Regions from separate parts of the Homo sapiens genome. Here region 1 is linked to region 2. Evidence: promoter capture Hi-C in 16 types of primary human blood cells and fetal thymus (Javierre and others, 2016). All regions are on one chromosome and are shown on one strand. The core of a region is centred on a gene start or on the middle of the fragment in contact, and the rest is flanking DNA. Distances in the headings are between cores, read along the strand shown. Region 1 overlaps GPLD1 (glycosylphosphatidylinositol specific phospholipase D1). Region 2 holds the start of GMNN (geminin DNA replication inhibitor).

Region 1 (2,700 bases), core at 49-2,548, 330 kb after region 2:
CACACTTCCAGGCCTGGGGTCGCAGAGACAGAGCCTGCTGGGAGGCCTGGATGGGGGGAGGTGCATTTCCTTTCCTTGCTCCTGAGTACCTGGCCAGCTGTCAGTCTTGTGCCCTGGCAGCTAAGCCCAGTGTGCTTCATTCTAGGCTGGGCCATTTGTTACACATCCGAGATGAGAAAAAGAGCCTTGGGAGGGTGTATGGCTACTTCCCACCAAACGGCCAAAGCTGGTTTACCATTTCTGGAGACAAGGTATGACAAGCCCTCCCCACACAGGAGAGTGGACACTCCAAGGAAGTTTTCTCACCTATACAATATTGATTTATTGTGTCTCACAGGCAATGGGGAAACTGGGTACTTCCCTTTCCAGTGGCCACGTACTGATGAATGGGACTCTGAAACAAGTGCTGCTGGTTGGAGCCCCTACGTACGGTAGGTCACACACTGTGAAACTGTGCTTCCTTTCAGTCATGTGGCTGCTTGTACATGTCGTATTGGAGGAAAGTGATGAGATCTGGAGCTGAACAGATCTAGGTTTCAATATTTCCTTTTTTCATTAATAACATTCTGTGTAACTTTGGGGAAGTTACTTAACCTCTCAGAACTTTTGTATCACCATCTACAAAACTGAAATTGTAAATACCTATTTCAGGCCGGGTGCGGTGGCTCACACCTGTAATCCCAGCACTTTGGGAGGCCAAGGTGAGAGAATCACTTGAGGTCAGGAGTTGGAGACCAGCCTGGCAACATGGTGAAACTTTGCCTCTACTAAAAATACAAAAATTAGCCAGGTGTGGTGGTGCATACCTGTAATCCCAGCTACTCGGGAGGCTGAGGCAGGAGAATCGCTTGAATCTGGGAGGCAGAAGTTGCAGTAAGCCAAGATCATGCCACTGCACTCCAGCCTGGGCAACAGAGCAAGACTTCATCTCAAAAATAAAATAAAAATAAAATAAAATAAGATAAAATAAAATTTGTGTTTCAAAGCTTTGTTGAAAATGACATATGAAAGTAACTTAGTGTATTTTTAAAGCCCCTATCCCATGGAACTTGGAGCCAGAGAAAAATTGTATAAGTCAGTTCACTAGGAATAGGTCCACTATGAGGACCTATCTTTTATTTTTCTTTTTTGAGACAGTCTTGCTGTGTCGCCCAGGCTGGAGTGCAGCGGTGTGATTATGGCTTATGGCAGCCTTGACCTCCTGGGCAAAGTGAACCTTGCACCTCAGCCTCCTGAGTAGCTGCGACTACAGGCAGTCAGCCACCACATTATCTAATTTTTTATTTTTTGTAGCGAGAGGGTCTCAACATGTTGGCCAGACTGGTCTCTAACTCCTGGGCTCAAGTAATCCTCCCACCTTGGTCTCCCAAAGTGCTGGGATTACAGGCATGATCCACTGCACCCACCCCTGAAAACATACTTTATATAAACCATTATTTTGTTTACTTTATGGGAAAGATAGTCTTTAAAAAAAAAAATAAATAAGAACCATTTCCTCCCAGATTATAAAGGTGAATTATGCTTATTGTGGAAACTTCTGAAAATACAAGGAAATATATAGAAGGAAAAAAAAAACACCCCTTACCCAGATATTTAAAAACTGAAGCTTATACTATATATGATATTGTCATGCCTAATTTTTTTACTTATATCTTAAGCACATTCTCATGTTAGTAAATATTCTTCTAAAACATGACTTTTGATATCTGCATTGCATTTTTTTAATGCCAGCATTTACTAACATCATCCTGTTGCTGGAATTGTAGGCTCGTTTCCAGTTTCACACTATTGTGAATAAGTAATTATTGAACACTCATGTACCTAGTCTTTGACTGCCTTTCTGATTAGTTTTTTGGATAGATTCCTGGAGATGGAATTACTGGAGTAGAGGTTCTAATCTTTCTAAAAGCTCTTGTTATATATCATCAAACTATTTTTCAGAAAGATTGTTGTTTCTTGCAATATGGGAAAGATTTGAATAATAAGCAGAAGTGGGTCAGACAGGCGGGGTGCAGTGGCTCACGCCTGTAATCCTGGCACTTTGGGAGGCAGAGGTGGGTGGATCAGTTGAGGTCAGGAGTTAGAGACCAGCCTGGCCAACATGGTGAAACCTGTCTAAACCTACTAAAAATACACAAATTAGCCAGGCATAGTGGCACGCTCCTGTAATCCCAGCTACTCCTGAGCCTGAACCACAACAATTGCTTGAACCCTGGAGGCAGAGGTTGCACTGAGCCAAGATGACACCACTGCACTCCAGCCTGGGTGACAGAGTGAGACTCAGTCTCAAAAACAAAAAAACAAAAAAACAAGTGGATTAGGCAAAGGAATGGCTAAATTTTTCATTAAATCGAAGACACAGCATTATAACAAAAAAAAAGTGCTGACTTAGCTTTGGAATCATGTTGGAAGCCAAAAGAATGAGGGTCGTGATAACTCAGTATACCACTGGAGGCTATTTGAGTAAGCAGCAAAACTGTTTCTCATAAATGCAGAATGTTGGCAAACTGACAAACTGCATTTGCCACCCAGAAGGAAAGCTGAGGGCAGTCACGCCCCAAGTGCCGTGTTTCTTGTGATTAGGCACATCTGAAGCCTGTTAATAATAATATGAACCTGTGATCAATTAAGCAGCTGACCAATCGTTACCTCCTCCTCCCTGCTTTTGCTAACCAATAAATGGGAAGGGCTGTGGAAGCT
Region 2 (2,700 bases), core at 48-2,547:
CCCAGCTACTCGGGAGGCTGAGGCAGGAGTATCGCTTGAACCCGACAGGTGGAGGTGGCAGTGAGCCGAGATCCTGCCACTGCACTCCAGCCTGGGCAACAGAGCGAGACTCCGTCTCAAAAAAAAAAAAAGCTTAGAAAACAAAACAATCTAATTTGTGCGGGCATCCTGCTATTTTCTACTCTATTTCATGTTAAGAAAATGGTGTTCGGGCCCCAGTAAACAGACCCTACGCAATGTTCTTCAAACTGCGGGTCGCGGGCCGTGATCTCGAAATTAGTGAGTCATGAGCAACACTGCTTAGAAAAATGCAACTGAACAGAATGGAATTGAAGAGACGAGAAACATTGCTTCCATCACGTCTCATTTGGTTAGATAGCTGTGTCCTAGGTTGCGACGTAAAACGTACCTTAGTGTGAAAAAAGCTGAAAGCCACTTAGCATTCTAATCCTTCACAAGTTTCCCACGCCTGTCAGCGACCTTGCAACCCTTACTTGTTATTCTCCAGTTCCTTTAATAGCTAGATTAAAAACCCTGGCACAGGACAGGGTCCATGCGAAACCCGTATCAACAACGCCAGTATCCGTTTAATGGGAGACGCAGAATTCAGCCACCTCTTTCCATGAGCCAAATTTGCAGATCCCTCAGATCAGGACCAGCCACTTAACTGCCAAGAGGATGGATGCTTCGCCTCATCCCCACAGCTGGCAAGCCCAGGCTGAGTCCCTTACCCGCGTTGCAGTCCCCAAGCCCGGACCCAGCCAACTTGTCCCGGAGGCCCAGCGCCAGGCTAGGGGGCGGGCAGTGTGGCCCCGCGCGTCCGAGCCTACCAACCGCGGCGCGCGCCTCGGGAACTGCGCCAGCCAGCCAATAGGAAGCGCGGAAGTGAGAGCGCGCCAAAACCGACCCAGCCAATGGGGCAGTCCCTCGACTCACCTCCCAACCCCGCCCCGGCTCCCGCGACCGTTCAACAACCCCTTCGCCCTTACCCAGGCCGCGGCCCTGCAGCTGTCAAAGTAGGACGCGGCTTCAGAGGTTGGCCGGAGGGAAAGCGAGTCGTCTAGAGGCTGTGCGCCTTGCGCCCCTGCGTACCCACTTCCTGCCGCCTCTTGCCCACTTACTGGGTGGAGACGCTCAATCCTCGTAGCGAACGCACGTAGCTATGGCTGCAGCACCTCGCAAAAGGCCACAGCTCACCTACGCTGATCCCCACGGTCGCTGGAGTGCCCGGCGCGCTCTGCAGTAAAGCCCTGCTAACTCCGCTCGCCCGCTCCGAACAACCACGTGACCAACTGACGCAGACGAGGGGCGGGGCCTCTGGATCCCGCGAATCGCCTCTTCCCTCGGCCCCGCCCCTTCCTGCGCCTGCGCGGTCAACGGTAGCGAGTACTTGAGGACCGTGGGGGTTTTCTGCGGGCTGGGAGGCCTGTGCCCTTTGACCCTCCCCTCCGACCCTGCTCTTGGAACTTCCTTAAAATGCAAAGTTTTAGCCCTTTACGAAAGGGAGAAAGATTTGCCTCCATTAGTCGTTAGCACCAGAAGAACAAAATATTGTATGTGCATATATATTAATATGTAGTACACGACATATATTTGTGTAAAGCCCTGGCTCCACGGACTCGTAGTTGTATTAGGGGCTTTTATATTTTGGCTTTTTGTGTTTTGACTATGGTGTGGTGCGGTAGGAATTGTTCAGGAGACAACCGATTATCAGTTAATCCTGCAGCTATTCATTGAGCGCCTTATACGTGCCAATTACTACTGTTCTAGGCACTGAAATTACAACTGCTGTTGCAATTTGAAGGAGCAGAAACACCTTGGTAATAATTACGTCTAGCCTTTTCCTTCTTTTTTTTTTTTTTAATTGAAACGGAGTCTCGCTCTGTCACCCAGGCTGGAGTGCAGTGGCGCGATCTCGGCTCACTGCAAGCTCCGCCTCCCGGGTTCAAGCGATTCTCCTGCCTCAGCCTCCCGAGTAGCTGGGACTACAGACAAAGGGAGACCCTGTCTCAAAAAAAAATTAATTTTAAAATATTTTAAAAATAAAAAGCAGAAGGAAGGCGTTATCGAGTACAAATAAGGGACATATTACCAAATGCAATGTATGGATCTCGTCTGAACTAAACACTGTATTTAAAAAAATACCCAAGGGAAATTTGAACACTGACTGAATATTTTGGGATGGTAAGATATGAGTTGTTTAAGGTTACCTGATGAGCAATGGGTTAAAAAAAGAGATTAGTTGTAATGACAATATTGTGGGTTTTATTGTAATAGCTTCTACCTATAAATGGTAATTACAGATGAAATTTTATACCATATATTTTATTTGAAATAATTATTGAGAGAAGCAAGGGAAAAGGTATAAATCAAGCTTTCTCAGTATGGGCTCTATTGACATTTTAGACTGGGCAAATTGTTCGTGGTGGGGGCTGTCCTGGGCATTGTATGCTGTTTAGCAGTATCCCTGGCCTCTACCCTCTAGCTACCAGGAGTACATCCCAATTGTGAAGACCAAAAATGTCTGCAGACCTTGTCAGATAACCTTCCGCAGGGCAAAATCATCCCCAGTTGAGAACCACTGGTGCGAATAAAACAGTATTGGCCTTGTGTTGATAACTGCTGAGGCTAGTATGGATGAGTACATGAAGATTTTTTATTCACTCCCTCTACTTTTATATCTGTTTGGGATTTTCAATA

Evidence for each region. The method cuts DNA at HindIII sites, captures the fragments that hold promoters and counts their contacts. A CHiCAGO score of 5 or more calls a contact.
Region 1: a contact is called between a fragment that was not itself captured here and the fragment with the promoter of GMNN in region 2, in 4 of 17 cell types (M2 macrophages, fetal thymus, total B cells and 1 more). The highest score is 5.5, in M2 macrophages.

Annotation. Positions count from the first base shown.
Region 1 is chr6:24,443,277-24,445,976 of GRCh38, reverse strand. GPLD1 (glycosylphosphatidylinositol specific phospholipase D1) reads left to right here. Exons shown (of 25, transcript NM_001503.4): 19 at 146-251; 20 at 338-431. Among named protein-coding and RNA genes, the nearest start is that of MRS2, 42 kb to the right of the region's middle. The HindIII fragment of the contact is 620 bases long and covers 989-1,608 here.
Region 2 is chr6:24,773,534-24,776,233 of GRCh38, reverse strand. GMNN (geminin DNA replication inhibitor) reads right to left here and starts at 1,297. Exons shown (of 7, transcript NM_015895.5): 1 at 990-1,297. RefSeq lists an enhancer at 303-382. The HindIII fragment of the contact is 2,242 bases long and covers 135-2,376 here.